Regions from separate parts of the Homo sapiens genome. Here region 2 is linked to region 1. Evidence: promoter capture Hi-C in 16 types of primary human blood cells and fetal thymus (Javierre and others, 2016). All regions are on one chromosome and are shown on one strand. Each heading gives the region's core, a stretch centred on a gene start or on the middle of the fragment in contact. The rest is flanking DNA. Distances are from core to core; before and after follow the strand shown. Region 1 holds the start of NCOA3 (nuclear receptor coactivator 3). Region 2 overlaps LINC01754 (long intergenic non-protein coding RNA 1754).

Region 1 (6,219 bases), core at 2,095-4,594:
AAAGAAAATTCTAGGCAAAAGGAACAACAGGTGCACAGGTCCTGAGGCAGGAATATGCTTGGTGTGTTCAGGAATGTTAGTGTGACATGGGGTGAGATATAGGGAGAGATATATCACCTGAGATCAGGGAGGGGAGCAGAGACCAAATCAATTAGGGTCAGAGTAGTTTGTTTTCTTAAATGGAGTCAGGGTCTCCCTCTGTCACCCAGGTTGGAGTGCACTGGCACAATTACGGCTCACTGCAGCCTCGAACTTCCGGGCTCAAGCAATCCTCTCACCTCAGCTTTCTGAGTAGCTAGGACTAGAAGCGTGGGCCACCACACCCAACTAGGGTCTGAGTTTTATCCCAAATGCAATGGGATGCCATTCGAAGCTGTTTAGGTTGGAAGTTTTTTGTTTTGTTTTGTTTTGTTTTGTTTTTGAGATGGAGTTACGCTCTTGTTGCCCTGGCTGGAGTGCAGTGGCATGATCTTGGCTTACTGCAACCTCTGCCTCCTGGGTTCAAGAGATTCTCCTGCTTCAGCCTCCCAAGTTGCTAGGACTACAGGTGTGTGCCACCATGCCCAGCTAATTTTGTATTTTTAGTAGAGACAGGGTTTCACTATATTGGTCAGGCTGGCCTCAAAACCCTGACCTCAAGTGATCTGCCTGCTTTGCCCTCCCAAAGTGCTGGAATTACAGGCGTGAGCCACCGTACCCGGCCTAGGTTGGAAGTAACATGATTTAATACATGATTTTTCAAGGATCCCTCTGGCTACTGTATTGGGAGTGCCCTGTAGAGGATGAAAGGGAGAGAAGCAAGGAGAGTAGCTAGGAGACAGGTGCAGTTGCTGAGGTGAAAGGCCATACACGTGTGAGCATTTCATCTCTGGGTTCTCAGCATCTAACGCAGTATTTTATTTTATTATTTTTATTTTATATATATATATATTTGAAATGGAGTCTCACTCTGTCGCCCAGGCTGGAGTGCAGTGGTGCAAGCATGGCTCACTGCAGCCTTGACCTCCCCTACTCAGGCAATCCTCCCACCTCAGCCTCCTGAGTACTTGGGAATACAAGCAGGCGCCACCACACCAAGCTAATTTTAAAATTTTTTGTAGAGACTGGGTATCTGCTTTGTTGCCAAGGCTGGTCTTGAACTCCTGGGCTCAAGCAATCTCTCGGCCTTCCAAAGTGTTGGGATTACAGGCCTGAGCCACTGTGCCCTGGTGGAAATATATATATATATATTTTTTTGAGACAGAGTTTCGCTCTTGTGGCCCAGGCTGGAGTGCAGTGGCGCGATCTCGGCTCACTGCAACCTCTGCCTCCCGGGTTCAAGTGATTCTCCTGCCTCAGCCTCCCGAGTAGCCAGGATTATAGGCGCCTGCCACCATGCCCAGCTAATCTTTTGTATTTTTAGTAGAGACGGGGTTTCGCCATGTTGGGCAGGCTGGTCTGGAACTTCTGACCTCAGGTGATCTGCCCACCTTGGCCTCCCAAAGTGTTGGGATTACAGGTGTGAGCCACCGTGCCCGGCCCAGAAATGAGATATTTAATTTTTTAATTTTTACTTTTTTTTTTTTTGAGACGGAGTTTCACTCTTGTTGCCCAGGTTGGAGTGCAATGGTGCCATCTCGGCTCACCGCAACCTCTGCCCCCAGGTTCAAGTGATTCTCCTGCCTCAGCCTCCTGAGTAGCTCGGATTACAGGCATGTGCTACCATGCCCAGCTAATTATGTATTTTTAGTAGTGACGGGGTTTCTCCATATTGGTCAGGCTGGTCTTGAACTCCCGACCTCAGGTGATCTGCCTGCCTTGGCCTCCCAAAGTGCTGGGATTACATTCGTGAGTCACCGCGCCCAGCCAAAATGAGATATTTTAAATAACATAAGTAAACAGAAATATATCATGATTTTAATGATAATTCATGCTCTGAAAATAAATGAAGAAAGGAATAGGAGTAGGGAAAGCTGGGATCAGAGTGGGCAGGAAGTTAAAATAGAGCAGTTAGGGAAAGCCTCACTGAATAAGTGACATTTGGACAATGACCATGGGGAGATTAGGGAATGGGTTATTTGAATTTTCTGGGAAAATACTGTTCTAGGCAGAGGAAATAGCAAGTGCACGATCTTTAAGGCCAGAGTGTGCTAAGCACGTTGGAGAGGCCGAGTCCATTGTAGCTGAGTTACAGAAGTGAGTGGAAGAGAAGAAGGTGATGAGTTTAGAGAGGGAAGGGCAGGGCAAGAGACGGGCTGTATGGGGCTTTGCAGGTTACTGCAAGAATTTTGCAGGAGGGACAGAGACTGACTTGGTTCTTACCAGGATTCCTCTGGCTGCTGTGTTGAGTATAGACTCTAAGAGGAAAGAGTGGAAGCAGGCAGAACACTGAGGAGGCTGTTGCAGTGGTCCAGGTGGGAAATGATGGTGCTGACCGTGGAGGTGGTAAGTGGTCAGATTATTCTATTTTATTTACACTCAACACATCTAATACTGACTCAATATTATCTAACATACAGTCCACATTGAAATTGCCCCCCAAATTCTTTTTACATAAAAAAATCATCCTGAATCCAATCAAGTCTCACCTATTGCTTTTGGTTTTCACCTCTTTCATGCTGTCATATTTTAAAAGACTCCAGGCTAGATGTTGTGTAGAATGTCCCACATTCTGAATTCGTTTATTTTTTCAAGTAAGCTTTTTGTGTGTATGTGGCAAGAATACGACAGAGGTAGCAATATGCTTTCCCCACTGCATCATATTAGGAGACACATAACAACAGTCCTGACCCATTATTGGTGGTGCTAAGTTCGATCACTTGGTAAGGGGGTGCCTGCCAGATCTTTCCATTGTAAAGCAAGCTGTTCTTTATTGTAAGTCATAAATACGCTGTGGGATGATACTTCGGGACTAAATATACCCTGAATATACTGCTGCCCAACAACATTTCACCCAGTGACTTTAGCAGCTAAGGAACAGCCTCGTGGCTTCCGACCTTGTGCCTCAGTTCGCTCATCTGAAAAATGAGGATGATCATGGTCCCTACCGGATGCTTGTTTTGAGGATCCGTGCTTGGCATACCAGAAACGCTCCACAAATGTTAGGTATTACTGGACGAAGGCAAATATGAAAAAAATTAAGGGCAGGGCTAGGACTGCATTCCGGTTCTCCGGATCCCGAGGGAGCTCCCAGTCGATGCTGGGCGAAAGCGGCCGCACGAGCCCACGTCGCCACGCCCTCCGCCGCGGAAGCCAGGGTGGGGGTCGCTGGAACCCTAGGCCGGCCGCGCAAGGCCCCCTGGGACCGGTAGTGCTGGGCGTGGCCTCGGGACTACATATCCCAGTGGCCCCCGTGCGGCGACTTTAGCTGCTGCTGTCTCAGCCGCTCCACAGCGACGGCAGCGGCTGCGGCTTAGTCGGTGGCGGCCGGCGGCGGCTGCGGGCTGAGCGGCGAGTTTCCGATTTAAAGCTGAGCTGCGAGGAAAATGGCGGCGGGAGGTGAGTGGAGATAAAGGAGGAGGCGGTGGCGGGCGAGGGGGTGGAGTGCGAGGCGGAGGGAAGAGGGGCGAGTTCCCCAGGCTGCGAGAGCCAGCGGCTTCAGATCTGCCAAGGCACTGAGGGGCGCGCCGGCCGGGGGACGCGCTGAGGTAGTTTCGGGGTGTCGGGGCCGCGCCGCTTCCCCTCAGCCCGGGGGGCGGCCCGCGGCGGTAGGAGCTGAGACGAAGCTGGGTGGCAGTCCGCTTGGGGATCCGAGGGGGTCCCCGCGCGGAGGGGTCACCCGAGGAGTTTGCGGGGGGACTGCAGGGGCCCACTTTCCCCTTCTGTCCCTAAAGTTTTTTCTTCCTCTTGCCTCCCCCAGCCCTTTTGAAAGCTCCCCGCGTCGTCCTCCTGCTGCCCCGGCTCCTTAGCAGCTTCTGGGACGCACGGGAGGGAAAAGCCGCGGGGACCCCCCCCACCCCAGCCTCCCAGCCGGGTGAGATTTGGTTGCTGTGTTTCCTCCTCACTTGGGCATTTAAAAAATATTTTAACACGAATTGTCCGCGGAATTTTCATGTTGGGCTCGGGTAGCTTCTTAGTTTTCTCGGTAAAAAGGCGTTTTACTACCTCTGGTGTGAAGGCTGGGAAATGGCAAGTGGGAAGTTGGTTGATAAAATTAGGAGTTTGGCTGTCTTTATTACTACTTTTTTTTTTTTTTTGCTCTCCCCATCTCTCATTTTATGAACATCGACCCAGTTCGTCATGGTTTAAATAAACTGCTTGTCTTGTACCTGCCTTAACAAAACTAGCCATGGGTCGTTGGGAGACTTAGTTGCTTCCTAGGCAGTTTGAGGGCATCTAGGGTGGAAAAGTTAACCGAGAGAGCGAGCATCTACCTCACTGGCAGGATCTGGGATTCCCAAATGGAATGACACGGAAGCTATGAGATTCTCTCGAAGTCGAAACTTTTTTCCCCCTCCCGAATGCGAAGACTTCCTTTTTGCAATATTTGAGCAGGGCTTCAAAACCAACCTGTTTTTGTTATTAAGCCTGTACGGTAAAGAAACAGGAAGGAGAGTACCAGCTGTCTTGCTGCAGTGGTTTTAAATGGAGTTGAATGAGATGCGTGAGAGTGGTAGTAGTATTGAGTAAGATTGCTGCATCTCTTTGATTTAAATGCCTGGCCTCGGATCCACCTAACTGATCCCTGGCTGCAAAAAAGCTTCAGTATTTGTTGCAGCAGGTTGTTGAGAAGGTGATTGGAGGAATAAAAATCTTAGGTCTTCAGCGAATGCTGCACAAACGAAAATGTTAATGGAAACCTGTAAGTTTGTGAATTGTTTGTTCTTGAAAATATTTTAAATGTATGCTCATTTAGAATATGGTTCTACCGAATGATATCCAATTGGAAAGGTACAAACACATTGAAAAGTGAATCTCTCTTTCACGCCAAACCCTACAGTTTCCCCTTCTCAGAGGCAAAGACTGTTACTGGTTTTTAGAATATCCTTGGTCTTTGGAATAATTATTTTAAGATTTTCATTTGAAACCACTTCTGTTGGATACCAAAAGCAGGGAAATAAAATGAACAGAAGAAACAGAAAATGTGGGAATACTGTTTTTGCTCTCTTAAAAAAAATGTTGATAGCTATTGGAAAAAGCTCTTCAGAACTTACTGCTTATGTCACCTTATCTATTAATACCGTTAAATAACAATCTGTGGGGCTTTAGGATAAAGAACTCTGCCAGGGTTCATTGTTTGTATGTACAATGAATCCTCTGCTTGTAACATGTAAAATGATATTGAACACTATAGCTCCTGTCACTAGAGGTTGCTTCAGGTTCTGCATTTCAATGAGCAGAAATCTAAATTGCCTGTGATCCTAAATTATAGGGGCATTTTATGTATAGATGGAAATGACTTAATTGTCCAATCAGCATTTGAAATAAGAGGCATATACCAGCTTTTGGCATATAGAAGATGGGGATTGTGGACTAAGCGGGAGGCTGTAATATTTCTAGAGCAGTTATAGGAAATATTTCTGCCATAAGATATTTAATTACAAAGGCTTTGAAAATGTACAACTTAAGCATCAATAGCGAGATTTATATTTTTATATTTTAGAATGGTTGTTTTAACAGCTTGCCAACACTAACAATTTGCTAAGGAAATTCAGTGATATTAGAGCTAGGTTATTAAAGATTATATTAAATAATTTAACTGTATTTTGAAAATGATTATGCTGTGCATTTCCTTCTCTGTATAAAAATTATTTCTAAAAAGTGCCACGCACCTCCCGAGCAAATAAAATAGAATTCAGTAAGGAGTGAAGTACTGTTGTACGTGAGACCCTTTTTCTAGGCGATATGCAAATAAAAAGTAGTTTAAAAATGGTTGCTTACTAATGTCTTCTTGACTGGTCTTTTGAAATAAGCTTTCTTGCAGGGACATTACATTAAAGATAAAAGCTAAGTGTGTCTTTTTTTTTTTTTTTTTTTTTTTTTAACGAATTCAGTTCTTTCTGCCGGGCTGCAGTGGCTCAGGCCTGTAATCCCAGCACTTTGGGAAGCCAAGGCTGGTGGATCACGAGGTCAGGAGTTTGAGAACAGCCTGGCAAAGATGGTGAAACCCCTTCACTACTAAAAATACAAAAAATTAGCCGGGCGTGGTGGCGAGCACCTGTAGTTCCAGCTACTCAGGAGGTTGAGGCAGAAGAATGGCTTGAACCCGGGAGGCGGAGGTTGCAGTGAGCCGAGATTGCA
Region 2 (5,747 bases), core at 1,945-4,444, 120 kb before region 1:
AGAGCAAGACTCCGTCTTGAGGAAAAAAAAAAAAATTAGCCGGGCGTGGTGGTGGGCGCCTGTAATCCCAGCTACTTGTGAGGCTGAGGCAGGAGAATCACTTGAACCTGAGAGGCAGAGGTTGCTGTGAGCCGAGATCGCACCACTGCACTCCAGCCTGGGCGACAGAGCGAGACTCCGTCTCAAAAAAAAAAAAAAAGACTTTGCTCTGGTCAGGAGTGGTAGCTCATGCTGTAATCCCAGCACTTTGGGAGGCCAAGGTGGGAGGACCAATTGAGTCCAGGAGTTCAAGGCTACTAGTGAGCTATGATCATGCCACTCCACTGCACTCCAGCCCAGGCAACAGAATGAGACCCTCTCTCTAAAAGAAAAAAAAAAAAAAGCCAGGTGAGGTGGCTCACGCCTGTAATCCCAGCACTTTGGGAGGCTGAGGCGGGTGGATCACTTGAGGTCAGGAGTTCAAGACCAGCCTGGCCAACATGGTGAAATCCCGTCTCTACTAAAAATATAAAAATTAGCCGGGTGTGGTTGCCTGCGCCTGTAATCCCAGCTACTCAGGAGGCTGAGGCAGAATTGCTTGAACCTGGGAGGCGGAGGTTGCAGTGAGCTGAGATCATGTCACTGCACTCCAGCCTGGGCGACAGAGCAAGACTCCATCTCAAAAAAAAAAAAAAAAAATTTATAAAAGCACAGGGTCTTCCAGAAATTGTGGATTAATTGGTCTGGGGAGACGACCAAGCATTTGATTTTTGTTGTTTTTTTTTTTTGTTTCTTTGAGTTGTAGTCTCGCTCTGTCACCCAGGCTGGAATGCAATGGTGCGATCTGCGCTCACTGCAACCTCCGCCTCAAAGGTTCAAGCAATTCTCCTCCCTCAGCTTCCCAAGTAGCTAGGATTATAAGCACCTGCCACCATGTCCGGCTAATTTTATTGCATTTTTAGTAGAGACGGGGTTTCACCATGTTGGCCAGGCTGGTCACAAACTCCCAACCTCAAGTGATCCACCCGCCTCGGCCTCCCAAAATGCTGGGATTATAGGTGTGAGCCACCGCACCCAGGTTGATATAGTTTTTAAAGAGCCCCAGCTGATTCTAATGTGTAGCCACGGTTGAGCGCCACTGTTCTAGAAAACTACAAGTTTAAACTAGAACAAAAAGAGGCATTTTGGCCCGGCACAGTGGCAAACGCCTGTAATCCCAGCTACCTGGGAGGTTGAGGCAGAATCGCTTGAACCCGGGAGGAGGAGGTTGCAGTGAGCTGAGATGGCACAACTGCACTACAGCCTGGGCAACAGAGTGAGACTCCGTCTCAAAAAAAAAAAAAAAAGCAGGGGGAGGGGAGGCATTTTGGCATGTCCATCACTAATGGGATATACACGCACACCATATCCTGGGTTGTAGCTTTGCAGGCAGTAAATCTAATTTTTTAATTTTTTTCAATTTCAGCTCCACTCCTAACTAACTATGATTTAGGGCTGTAGGGAAGAAAAAGTACCTTTTCCTCACCCATCACAAGGTTCATGGCTAACACCCCTAAAGACAGATTAACAAGAGATAAGCATGACAAATTTATTTAACCCAAGTTTTGAGTGACTCAGGAGTCTTCCAAAGTGAAGAACCGTGACCCAGGGCACCTGTGTTTTTATGGACAGTCAAGCAGCAGTGTCACAGGAGGACAAAAGGGTTTGATCCAATGATGTACACAGTGGGAACTTAGCAAGGCCTGTGAGTTTAGTCTTCATGGTCTCCACGGACAGGACCGGACCCCCTCTGGAATGAGGGGCTTGGGGCCTACTTTCAGGAGAGGCAGGTCAGAGAAACCTTGAGTGGCCCACTGCAGAAGAGGAAGGCAGGAGAAGGTCAGAGAGTGACCTTCCTGCTTCTATGGTTTCCTCAAATTCCTTCAGCTTCAAATGCTCAGTTTGCCAAAGTGCTGTAATTTGGGGTATTGTGTTCCAAACCCCTACAGGAGAAGTCCCTACTGCTCTAAGCAGACTTGAGCAGGCATCAGAAGCACGTGGGCAGCTTGCTAAACACTGATTGAGGGACTCACCCCCACCAAGTTTCTCAGTTGAAAGATTTGAGAATCTGCATTTCTTGAAATTCTCAGGCCTTTTGATTAAGAAACTCTTTTTTTTTTTTTTTTTTTTTTTTGACAGAGTTTCACTCTTATTGCCTAGGCTGGAGTGCAATGGCATGATCTCGGCTCACTGCAACTTTAGCCTCCCTGGTTCAAGCGATTCTCCTGCCTCAGCCTCCTAAGTAGCTGAGATTACAGGGGCCCGCCACCACGCCCAGCTAATTTTTGTATTACAGGTGCCACCACGCCCAGCTAATTTTTGTATTTTTAGTAGAGACGGGGGTTTCACCACATTAGCCAGGTTAGTCTTGAACTCCTAACCTCAGGTGATCCATCCGCCTCGGCCTCCCAAAGTGCTGGGATTACAGGCGTGAGCCATCACACCCGGCAGATTAATAAATTCAATCAAGGACTTTGGGGGAAGTGGGGCTGAGAATTTGCATTTCTATCAAACGCCATCAGAATTTAGCAGGTGCTGCTGCTGATCCAGGGAACAGGCTTTGAGAACCAGGGCTCAGTTGATTACTAGTATAATTAACAACCTCTGATCCCATCACTGGCTCCCATTTCAGAGCAATGGTTGGTGCCTGCAAGCTTTCATCTCACTGTGTCCACACACAATCCCATGGGGTCCCAGTGTTCTTATGGATGAGGTTACCACGGCTGCAACATTCACAGTGAATTGTCCAGGGTCACGCAGCTGCAGCCAAAGTCTGGGGTGGAACACAGGTCTAATTACAAGCAGGAGAGAACCTGGGCAACACTTTCTTTGGGAGCATCAAAGCAAGCTCTCCCACCACCTGCTTGAGCACTTCCAAATCCTGCCGACATACCCAACCCTGCAACAGGCAAAGAGCCTCGCCTCCTGCTGGGAGAGCAGCTTCTTGCGGCGCGGCCTTCGCGAAACTCCGTGGAGAAATGGCGCCCCCTGGTGGCTCCAGAGAGAGCAGCGTTCCATTCTCCGGGCTGGGAGCTCTGGTCTCATGCGTCATGGACATTCTTGGACCCCATCACTAACATGGAAAATATTATTCAGTCCATTCCATCCTAGGAAAGAACTCAGGGTGCTGAAAGGAGGTGGGGACTTCAGAGCTCAGGAATGTAAAGGAAGGGCGGCGGACCGAGCCCTGGGGCTCTCAGGGGGCTGGAATGGTTAAAGCACAGCTGAGAACAATTCGGAGTTTCACCTTTGACCTTCCCAAAGACTTCTGCTGAGGAATTTTCTTTCTTTTTTTTTTTTTTTCTTTCAGACGGTGTTTCACTTTTGTCGCCAAGGCTGGAGTGCAATGTCGTGATCTCGGCTCACTGTAACCTCTGCCTCCCGGGTTCAAGTGATTCTCCTGCCTCAGCCTCCTGAGTTGCTGGGATTACAGGCGTGCACCAGCTAATTTTTGTATTTTTAGTGGAGACGGGGTTTCGCCACGTTTGGCCAGGCTGGTCTCAAACTCCTGACCTCAGGTGATCCACCCACCTTGGTCTCCTAAAGTGCTGGGATCACAGGTATGAGCCAGCGCGCCCGGCGGAGGAATTTTCAGTACTAAAGCTATAGTGTTGTGATGAGAGTCCGGCGTGCTCCCTGAATGCCGGTGCCCGATTCATAACCTAGTGCATTCGTTCACACATTATTCATTCAACAGATAAGCTTTTGCGTGCAGTACTATTCTGGGTGCTGGGACCACCGAAATCAGCAGAACAGACAGAATCTTTGCCTTCACGGATGCCTCCTGCCCTAGAACAGTGAATGAATGAATACATCAATAGGTAGAACACATGGAAAATAGATGACACTTAATAAAGAGATGTCATTGAGATGACACTTAAGCAAAACCCGGAGTGAGGAGAAAGAGCAGGTATCTGGTGAAGAAGTGTTCCAGGCAGAGAGAATGGTAAGAGCAAAGCCCCCGGGGCGTGGGTGTGTTTCTCTAACATGTTTGAGTTCTTTTTTTTTTTTTTTTGAGACGGAGTCTCCCGCTCTGTTGCCCTGGCTGGAGTGCAGTGGCGCCATCTTGGCTCACTGCAAGCTCCGCCTCCTGGGTTCACGCCATTCTCCTGCCTCAGCCTCCCGAGTAGCTGGTATTACAGGTGCCCGCCACCACGCCCGGCTAGTTTTTTGTATTTTTAGTAGAGACGGGGTTTCACCATGTTAGCCAGGATGGTTTCGATCTCCTGACCTTGTGATCCGCCTGCCTTGGCCCCCCAAAGTGCTGGGATTACAGGCGTGAGCCACTGCGCCCGGCCTTTTTTTTTTTTTAAATTAAAAAAATAAGGGCCAGGCACAGTGACTCACGCCTGTAATCCCAGCACTTTGGGAAGCCTAGTGGGGTGTATTACCTGAGGTCAGGAGTTTGAGACCAGCCTGGCCAACGTGGTGAAACCCCATCTCTACTAATTTGCTGGGCATGGTGGCACGCGCCTGTAGTCCCAGCTCCTTGGGGGGCTGAGGCAGGAGAATTGCTTGAACCTGAGAGGCTGAGGTTCCAGCAAGCCGAGATTGTGCCATTGCACTCCAGCCTGGGCGACAAGAATGAAACTGTCTCAAAGAAAGAAAAAAAATAAAAATAAATATGGTGCTGGGCGTGGTGGCTCATGCTGTAATCCCACCACTTTGGGAGGTAGAGGTCAGGAGTTGGAGACCAGCCTGGCCAACATGGTGAAACCCCCTCTCTACTAAAAATACAAAAATTAGCTGGGCATGGTGGCCTGTAATCCCAGCTACTTGGGAGGCTGAGGCATGAGAATCACTTGAACCCAGGAAGCGAAGGTCGCAGTGAGCCAAGATCATACCACTGCACCCCAGCCTGGGTGACAGAGCAAGACTCCGTCCCCCTCACCCCCAAAAAAGAGAGAGATGGGGTCTCTCTATGTTGCCCAGGCTGGTGTCGACCTCCTGGGCTCAAGGGATCCTCCTATCTTGGCCTCCCAAAGTGCTAAGATTACAGGCATGAACCACTGCGCCCAGCTTGAGTTGTTAAAAAAATTTTTTTTGTAGAGATGGGGTCTTGCTATGTTGCCTGGGCTGGTCTTGTACTCCAGACCTCAGCCAGTCCTCCCACCTCAGTCTCCCAAAGTGCTAGGATTACAAGTGTGAGCCACCACGCCTGGCCTAGACTAGACTGTTGATGATGGAGTGGGATGTATCTCTTCATATCCAAGAACCACTTACCCTGTTATTAATTCGACAGTTTTTATTAAATCAACTTATTTTGTTTTATTTTTTGTTTATAGAGACAGGGTCTTGCTATGTTGCCCAGGCTGGTCTTGAACTCCCCAGCTCAAGCAATCCTCCTGTCTGGGCCTCCCAAAGTGCTAGGATTACAGGTGTGAGCCCCCATGTCTGGCCTGAAATAAACGCAGTGTTTTTTTTTTTTTGAGACAGTCTTGCTCTGTCGCCCAGGCTGGAGTGCAGAAGTGTGGTCTTGGCTGACTGAAACCAGGCAAAATCTGGGCCGGGTGTGCTGGCTCATGCCTGTAATCCCAGCACTTTGGGAGGCCAAGGCAGGGGGATCTCCTGAGGTCAGAAGTTCAAGACCAGCTTGGCCAACATGGTGAAACCCTGTCTCTACTAAAAATACAAAAATTAGTCAGGTGTGGTGGTGCACGCCTGCAATCCCAGAGCTACTGAGGAGGCTGAGACAGGAAAATCGGTTGAACCTGGGAGGCAGAGGTTGC

The links. The method cuts DNA at HindIII sites, captures the fragments that hold promoters and counts their contacts. A CHiCAGO score of 5 or more calls a contact.
Region 2: a contact is called between a fragment that was not itself captured here and the fragment with the promoter of NCOA3 in region 1, in 7 of 17 cell types (naive B cells, total B cells, activated CD4 T cells and 4 more). The highest score is 20.7, in naive B cells.

The regions. Positions count from the first base shown.
Region 1 is chr20:47,498,543-47,504,761 of GRCh38, forward strand. NCOA3 (nuclear receptor coactivator 3) reads left to right here and starts at 3,345. Exons shown (of 23, transcript NM_181659.3): 1 at 3,345-3,477. RefSeq lists a cis regulatory region at 2,261-2,333 and a silencer at 3,585-3,704. The HindIII fragment of the contact is 2,001 bases long and covers 2,676-4,676 here.
Region 2 is chr20:47,381,213-47,386,959 of GRCh38, forward strand. It overlaps LINC01754 (long intergenic non-protein coding RNA 1754), which reads right to left. Exons shown (of 3, transcript NR_146496.1): 3 at 1,554-3,807. Among named protein-coding and RNA genes, the nearest start is that of ZMYND8, 27 kb to the left of the region's middle. RefSeq lists an enhancer at 2,183-3,035. The HindIII fragment of the contact is 1,048 bases long and covers 2,671-3,718 here.